Regions from separate parts of the Homo sapiens genome. Here all the other regions are linked to region 1. The links are contacts of gene promoters, found by promoter capture Hi-C in human tissues and cell types (Jung and others, 2019). All regions are on one chromosome and are shown on one strand. The core of a region is centred on a gene start or on the middle of the fragment in contact, and the rest is flanking DNA. Distances in the headings are between cores, read along the strand shown.

The links. Contacts are between HindIII fragments. The study calls those that stand out against the background at their distance.
Region 2: a fragment that was not itself captured here is called in contact with the fragment with the promoter of ZNF484 in region 1 in 1 of the 25 tissues and cell types used here (spleen).
Region 3: a fragment that was not itself captured here is called in contact with the fragment with the promoter of ZNF484 in region 1 in 1 of the 25 tissues and cell types used here (dorsolateral prefrontal cortex).

The regions. Positions count from the first base shown.
Region 1 is chr9:92,876,591-92,879,486 of GRCh38, reverse strand. It overlaps ZNF484 (zinc finger protein 484), which reads left to right and starts at 1,449. Exons shown (of 5, transcript NM_031486.4): 1 at 1,449-1,597. RefSeq lists enhancers at 1,206-1,645, 1,159-1,694. The HindIII fragment of the contact is 22,413 bases long and covers 1-2,896 here.
Region 2 is chr9:92,661,040-92,663,935 of GRCh38, reverse strand. The region is part of intron 1 of IPPK (inositol-pentakisphosphate 2-kinase); the gene reads left to right. Among named protein-coding and RNA genes, the nearest start is that of IPPK, 7.6 kb to the left of the region's middle. The HindIII fragment of the contact is 6,326 bases long and covers 1-2,896 here.
Region 3 is chr9:92,680,344-92,683,239 of GRCh38, reverse strand. No RefSeq gene overlaps it. Among named protein-coding and RNA genes, the nearest start is that of IPPK, 12 kb to the right of the region's middle. The HindIII fragment of the contact is 6,651 bases long and covers 1-2,896 here.

The DNA.
Region 1 (2,896 bases), core at 200-2,699:
AGCTTTTTATTCCTGGAATAAATATCACTTGTTCATGGTTTGTAGTTATTTTTATATATTGTTGAATTATTTTTGCTATTATTTGGTTGAGAATTTTTCCATCTATATTCATGAAGAATACTGATTTCTTCTTCTTCTGTCTTTAGCTCTGATATCAGAGTAACACTGGCCTCATGAGTTGGAATATCTTTCTATTGTCTTCTTTCTATTCTTTTTTTATTCTGGAAGAGACTGGATATAATTCGTGTTAACCTTTAAATGTTTGTTAGAATTCTCTGATCTAGCTATCCAGGCCTTAAGATTTCTTTTTCAGATATTTCAAATTATGACTTCAGTTCTAGGGCTATTCAACATAACTATTTCATGTAAGAGAGAATTTGTGCTTTTTCAAGAATTAGTGCATTTCATCTATGTTGTGAAATTTATGTTTGTAGAGTTGTTTGTAGTATTCTCTTTATTCTTTTGATTTCGTCATGGTCTACAGTGGTATCTCCTGTTTCATTCTGGATATTGATATTTTGTGTCTCCTCTACAGATTTGTCAATTTTATTAACATTTACAGAACCAGCTTTTGTTTAATCGGTTTTTCTCTATTTTTCTTTTTACATTTTATTGAGTCATCTTCTTATCCTTATTATTTCCTTTCTTTCACTTGCCTTCGGTTTATTTTGCTCTTCTTTTTCTAGTATGTGAGGGAGCTTGGTTATTGCTTTGAAATTTTTTTCTTTTCTAATGTAAGCCCTTAGTGGTATATACATTTTTCTCTCACCACTGATTTAGCCACATCCCACAAATTTTGATATGTTGTGTTTCACTGTCATTCATTTCAATGTATTTTAAAAATTCATTCACTTTCACTTTCATTCATTTCAATGTATTTTAAAAATTTGAGACTTTCTCTCTGAACAATGGATTATTTAGCATGTGTTTTCACGTGTTTGGAGATTTTCCTTTTATCTTCCTGTTATTGATTTCTAGTTTAATTCTATTGTGTTCAGAGAACAAACTGTATGATTTCAGTTGTTTCAAATTTGCTGAGATTTGTTTTATGACCCAGGTTACTTCATATCTTGCTAAATGTCCCATCGACACGAATAAAATGTGTATTCGGCTGCGTTTGCGGTGTTACATAAATGCTGATTAGTTCCTGTTGATTAACAGTGTTGTTGTGTCCACAGAAGCATTGGAGAAAGACTGTAACCTGAGGTGATAGGCTTTGATTGTGTCCTGGCTTAGTATGATGGGACACACCTCTGCTTGCTTCCTTTCCTTTGGACAACCCTCAGCCTCTCAGTCTCTACATGACCTCAACATGGCCGCCCACAGGCCAGAGTGTCTACATGGGCGCCGCCATACTGGCGCCCAGCCTAAGCCGCTGAAACGGGAGCGTGTTTGGCAAAGCGCCATGTTGATTACTGGCAACCTTCAGGCCATGAAGACTGCTGAGCATGCGCAAACCCAGGCAGCGCTGTAAGAAGTACCTCTAGGCCTGGGAGGCATTGAGAAAAAGGAAGTGGGTCCTGTTCTGGTTCTTGCGACTATAGTCACCTCCCGAGGCAAATGACCACTGTCCTGAGAGGACGTGGGTGAGGGGCAGGTGAGTAGAGGGATGGCAGCATCTGTGGACTGAGCAAGAAGAATCTCTGATGTCTGTCCTGAGCCTTCCGGTCAGTGATGGGGTCGGTCAGTGGATGGAATAGTGGAAGTCGGAGCGATCTCTGATGGTGGATCTGAGGGAGGAGTGAGGGGGCACTGAGGGGTCTCTGGTGGTGGATCTGCAGGCGGAGTGAGGACGGACTGGGGGTCTCTGTCTGGTGGTGGATCTGAGGGCGGAGTGAGGGCGGACTGTGGGGTTGTGGGGGAGGATGACTATGGGAACTAAGGAGGGATCTGAGGAGTGTGAATGATGCACATCTTAATTAGTTTCCTCTCTTTTATACGTACCGATCTGTTTATATTTTCGTTTCTGTTTCATTATAATGATATATTTTGCTAAAGATTTAAAGAATATATTACATAGAATTGCATGTTTCCATTTCCATTTTGTTCTCTTTCATATCCAGACTAGTAGCTCCTTTATCATTACGGTTATTATATTTATATATCATTCATTCTTTCTCTATTTAAAAAGAATCAAGCGTCTGAAAGGTTTATCTGTTTCATTGGACATTTTGAAATGTCCAATAAAATACTCCCTACTCTTTTAATATTAATTTTTTTCTCTTTTTCTTTTTAGGTACTTTCTCTTTTTCCCACTTTTTGATGTAATTTGTTGTTCTTTCCCTTATTTTCTTAAGTTTTATGCGGGATACATTTAGGGTTGTAAAGTTTCTTTAAGTACATCTTTATGAAATGCATAAGTTCATTTTGATGTTTCCCTTTGAATCTTAGTTATTTAGGAGAGTTTATTCATTCCCAAATTATTAAAGTATGTTTTAGCTGTTTTTTATTTTATTGTATTGTCAGAAAATGCAGACTATCAAGTCTCAACTTTTAACAATTTATCAAGATTTTCCTTGAAGCCAAGTTACTCAATGAACTTTGTTCAACAGATATAAAAGAAAAATTATATTTTGTTGTATGGACCAAAATTCTCTTTAATTAAGTCTTGCTTGTTGGTATTTTTCAAATCTTTATCTTTCCTAATTTTGATCTACTTGTTTCATATTCTGGAGGAGATACAATAAAAATCACTTTTAATAGTTCATTTTGCAGTTATATGTGCTTTTTTGCTAATTTTATTTGTGCATCTGAGGGATGGGCATACATACACTTAATGGTTAGTGCATTTTTTATCCTTTTTCATGTATTAAGTGGTATTATTATAGGATCCCTTTTTTCAACCAAAAAGAAAAAAGAAAAACACTTTTTAACATCGAATTCCAAGAAAAACACT
Region 2 (2,896 bases), core at 137-2,636, 220 kb after region 1:
AGGCATCCTGAGGGGTGACCCCTGCTGCTGTTGTCTTTTTCTGTCTTCCCTTCCCATGAAAGTTGTCTGATCTCAGCTTCAGGTTATCTCCTCAGCCTGATGGAAGACTTGACCTTGGTCCTTGTCTTTTGACAGATCTCTGGAACAGCTGATTTTGTGGGTGATACCCCTCCAGAGTGAGTCCTCTGTGGGTGGCGGGAAAGTCTCTCCTCATCTGTCCTGAAAGGCTCTTGTAGTTAGTAGCTTTAATTCCACCCATAAGGTGCCCCCTCAGGCTTCCCATTGGCAGGTGTCCCTTTTAATGTATTGGGGTTTTTGTGGCCTTCTATTTTTATTTAACACCAATTGTTGCTTCTTCTCTCTGAAAATATAGAATATCAGAAGGAAGGAAGTGAAAAACATCCAATATTTCTCCATGAAGAGAACAAGTTTTGTTAACACTTTGGTGCACTTTCTTCTAGTCTTTTTCTATTTATTGTCAAGCATCGCTTAACACCAGGGATGCATTTTGAGAGCTGCATTGTTAGGTGATGTTGTTGCCATATGAACACACCTAGATGGTAGAGCCTGCCCCATGCCCAGGCTGTGTGGGGCAGCCTATGGCTCCTAGTCCTCAGACCCGCGCAGCATGGTTCTGGACTGAGTACTGCAGGCCATTGGGACACAATGGGAAGTGTTTGTTATCTAAAGGTAGAAACTGTGGTATTATAATCCTATGGGACACACCATTGTTTCATGCAGTCCATCACTGACCCAAGTGTTGTTATGTGATGCATGACTGTATTTTGTCTTTATTGGGTAGTTAACAACACTACGTATCTGTTTCTGTTTTGGGATTTTTTTTCACTTAATTTTATAGCACAAATATGTAGAAAATCCTCATGCATGTCTTGAAGGGTGCTCACGTGTTCCCAGTGTTGCGTTGGACATCCTTGTGGGTGGGCTTTGCCGAAAGTCTTCGTACACACTTCTTTGGACTTCTGATGCTCAGGCTGGGTTCTTGGGTGAATTAGGCCCCTTGGCACACGTTGCAGATCGCTTTCCACATGGCTGTGCCACCTACCCTTCCGCTGCAGCCCAGAAAGGGATTTTTATTGAAATGCTTTTTGCCACTTTTGTAAGTGACGAGTTGTGTCCCTTAACCTTTTAAATCTTGGGGTTATTTAGTGTGTGTGTATAAATGCATCACTCCTCTTGTTCTTCCTGTTGTTTGGTGTTTTTGGCTTGTTAGAATCCTTGATTTTCATCTAATTTTCCAAGGTGGAAGCTTCCCTGTTACCAAGACATAAAGGTGTGGCTTGGGCCTTGGTTTAGCGTTGCTTTTGTTAAGAAACACCCCAGCCCTCAGACTGCAGAAGTATCAAGTTCTTCCCTTCCAATCTTAACTCTTTTTCTTCACTTTTTTTTTTTTTGAGACGGAGTTTCGCTCTTGTTGCCCAGGCTGGAGTGCAATGGTACAATCTCGGCTCACCGCAATCTCTGCCTCCTGGGTTCAAGTGATTCTGCCTCAGCCTCCCGAGTAGCTAGGATTACAGTCATGTGCCACCACGCCGGGCTAATTTTGTGTTTTTTAGTAGAGACAGGTTTTCTCCATGTTGGTCGGGCTGGTCTCGAACTCCCGACCTCAGCTGATCTGCGCGCCTGGGCCTCCCAAAGTGCTGGGATTACAGGCATGAGCCACCGCGCCTGGCCCTTTTTCTTCACTTTTAACATTTTATTCTAGACGTTAAGAAGAAGGTAAGTTTCAAATATCTGGTTTCAGATACTTTTTTTAAGAGGAGTAGTGTCATTATCTCCATAGCTGGTTAAGACCTGGTGAGCTGGCAGGAGCTCGGAGCCTGCTGGGGTGTTGGTTCTTGCTCACTCCTTCATGTGAAGTCCCCCAGGTGGCTGTGTTGACCCCCTCTTCCCCAGCCATGGGTGCCCCTTGGACTCATTGTGTCTTTCTGCTAATGAGAGCTGCTACAGTGTTTTTTCACCTGTTTCCTGCCAGCTGCCTGCATGAGGGTAATGGGGCCCTGTGGCCTATGCATTACGAAGCCCTCAGCCTGGCACATCTTGGGGACCACCCACCTCGGCCAGCCCAGCCTGATCAGGTCCCTCACATGGGGCAGTTGGCATGGGCTGTAGAGAATAGGTGAGCTGAGTGTGTCTGAGTTTTGGTATTGATGAAAACTGGCTGAGACTACGGTTCCCCTGGGGGTAGGTTTCTTGTAATAGTTTTTGGATGATAAATGGGTGGGTGGAGAAAGCAGTTTCCCTTGAAATGGACAAATCACTGTATTCAGGTTTCCTTGGTTGGTTGTGGCTCTTGGGCTCCATAATGGGAAGGGATAGCAGGAGATTTCCTGTGAGTGACAGCAGGGAGGCCAAGCCACTGTGTTTGGATGTGGTGGTGGAGGAAATGTGAGGAAGGGGCTGGGAGGGCCGAGTGGGAGGGCCACTTTGGGCTTCTCTGCCCAGGCTTGGAAGGCCTGTGTCCATATCCTCTCCTGGGGGGCAGCACAGTACCCAATGCCCCCAGAGCCTGCTGGTGACTCAGTAGCAGCGAGGAGCCTGGCCACCAGAAAGACGCTGAGAACCTCCCAGGGTCCAGGCCCTCCTCTAAACTTGGCTTCACCCCACATGACCTTGACCTTTGGGGTCAAGACCTTGATCTTGATCAAGGCTTCTCTCCAGGCTGAGGCTGGGCCAGCAGGCGAGGCTGGACCTGGGTTCTCTGAGACCTGATCTGCCCTTGTGCAGTCTCACTTCCCATATTTCTGTAAACTGGGACTCAGTTGCCCATCTTGGAGGGAGAGACGGCTGGAGATGATGGAGTTTAGGAGTGTAGCGTGGGCCCTGAAGCGCTGGTGCTAGCACCTGCTGGCTATTGCAATAATAATTATTAATAAGT
Region 3 (2,896 bases), core at 169-2,668, 200 kb after region 1:
ATCTCAAGTCATCCACCCACCTCGGCCTCCCAAAGTGTTGGGATTACAGGAGTGAACCACCACTCCTGGCCCAGAAGGCACCATACTCTACACGTTGTCTTGCACCTGGAGGTTTTGCTTACTGCTCTGGAGGGTCTCCCTCTTTTCTATGAATGGCTGCAGAGTGTCCCCCCGAAACACACTTGCGCTGCAGGGTGACCAGTCAGTCCCTGCTGACAGCCACAGAGGTGGTTTCCAGTTTTGCTCATAGGAAGTTCTATAGTGGGTACCTTTTTATGGCTGCCTTGGCATAGCTCTCTGTAGGTGCAGTGGGTATCGCGTTCGCCCCAGAACTCTGGGTGTCAGAAGTGTTCTAGTCATGCTTTGCTGTGGCTGCCCTTCTCTTTTTTCTTTTTTTGAGATGGAGTCTCGCTATGTTGCCCAGGCTGGAGTGCAGTGGTGTGATCTCGGCTCACTGCAAGCTCTGCCTCCTGGGTTCACGCCATTCTCCTGCCTCAGCCTCCCGAGTAGCTGGGACTACAGGTGCCCACCACCACGCCCGGCTAATTTTTTGTATTTTTAGTAGAGACAGGATTTCACCGTATTAGCCAGGATGGTCTCGATCTCCTGACCTCATGATCCGCCCACCTCGGCCTCCCAAAGTGCTGGGATTACAGGCTTGAGCCACCGCGCCTGGCCCGGCCTTTTCTCTGTGTCACTTCTCATCTGCCTTCTGTCCATCTGGCCCCCACGCCCATTGGAGCTCCCAATCTTCCTCACTCAGGGTAAGATGCAGGATCTCCCTATGTGGGCCCTGGACAAGGGAGTTGTATCTTCCCTCCTGGGAACATGTGTACAGTGGTGGCTCTCACCCAGGAAATTTTCCCCCAAGTGCCATCTAGGACAGTATGGAGACATTTTTGGTTGTTGCAAGTGGGGGCTGGGGGTGGCTATTGGCATCTAGTGAGTGAATACCAGGAATTCTGCTCACCATCTGTGTTAGTTGGGATTGTCCAGAGAAACAGAACCAGTACTACAGATATTTATAGAGAAAGAGATCTATTGTAAGGACTTGGCTCATGCAACTATGGAGGCTGGTGAGTCCCAAGATCTGCAGGCAAGACCCAGGGACACTGATGTGTGTTCCAGGCCAGAGACTGGCAGGCTCGAGACCCAGGAGGAGGAGATGTTTCACTTTGAGTCCAAAGACAGGAAAAAGCCAATGTCCCAGTTTGAAGGCCTCAGGGAGGAGGAGTTTCCTCTTACTCAGGGGAGGAGCAGCATTTTTGTTCCATTCAGGCTTTTGAACTGAGAGATGAGGCCTGTCCGCCTTGTAGAGGACTGTCGGCTTCACTCAGTGCTGTGGTCTGAATGTCTGTGTCCCCCCAAAATTCAATGTTGAAGCCAACCCCAAGGTGATGGTATTAGGAGACGGGGGCATTAGGGAGATGATTAGGTCATGGGGGAGGAGCCTCAGGAATGGGATCAGTGCCCTAATAAAGGAGGCCTCAGAAAGCCACCTTGCCCCCTCCACCACCTGCCCCTTCCACTATGTGGGGACACAGTGAGAAGGTGCTCTCTATGAGGTAGGGGCCCTCTCCGCATGCCAAATCCGCCGGCTCCTTGATCTTGGACTCTCTAGCCTCCAGGACTATGAAAACACATTTCTGTAGTTTATAAACCACTCAGTCTAGTATTTTATTATAGCAGCCCAAATGGACTAAAACAACCAGTCTGCCAATTCAAATATTAATCTCATCCAGAAACACCCTCACAGACACACCCAGTCAGGTTAACACATGAAATTCACCATCACAGCATCCTACAATGCCCAGAACAATGCCTTCCACAACTCGTAATTCTTTGGTCCAAATGTCAGTAGTGCGGAGATTGAGAAACCCTGGCGCAGAGGAAGGAGCTGCATTTATCTTGATACAAAGGCGTATCTAGGATAAATTTCTATGAAAGGGTGTTTGCATACTTTATATTTTAATAGATATTGCCAAACTGTCCCTGGAAGGATTGCACTAGGTAAGACTACACTCTACAGTGTACAAGAAGGATGTTTGTTATCTCATGGCCTCTCCAGCAGTGGTTATTGTCAAGTGTTTATGCTTGGAACATTTTTTTCTCATCAGAGAGCTGTAGAACCAAGCCTTTGACCAGCAAATCCAGGGACTCTGTAGCCTACTAGTTTTAGCTGTTTTCTAATTATTTTTATAATACAATTCACTGGCTGCTAATGTGGTGAAGCAGGTTCACATTCCTGAGGGCTGAGAGTCGTTTCTGCGTGTTGGGGCTGATTGTAAGCAGCTTGGCTGGGTCTGTACAGTGCTAACTTGAGGTGGTTCCCCTTGAAAGAGGCCAAGGACAGAACTCACTGGGGTTGTCCACTGGGCTGGGGAAAGACATACTTCCCCTGGAGTGGGAACTTACAAGAGGGAAGAGAAGCAAGGCTCAGCAAGGGGCTGGGTCCCAGGCATCTTCACGGAGGCTGCCCTGGGCAGAGAGGCCTCCCCAGGGAGCAGCCCTAAGCCAGGCACCCCCTTCCTTCCCTCTGCCTAGCCCTGCCTGTCACCTCCTCTAACTTCCATCCCTGGGGGACTCTGCTTCTCCTTGGTCCTGCTAGCAGGAGCATCTTCCTGGAGCCAAGTGGGGCCCCAAGGGAGGTCTGGTCAGTTCTAGTTCCCCACAGCCCTGCTTGCTCATGGGCCCCCATGGTCCCTGCCCCGGAAGCATCCCGTAGTTTTTGGCACCTGGTGTGGGCTGGCCCTTGCCCCAGTCTCCACCCTTGGGCGTCTCCCAGCCCTTTCCCGGCAGGTCCCCCTGCAACCCACCCAGTGCCTGGAAACCACACCAGGGTGCCGGAGGCCTTGGGGTGCAGGCATCGGCTTCATATGCATGGATGGTGACACAT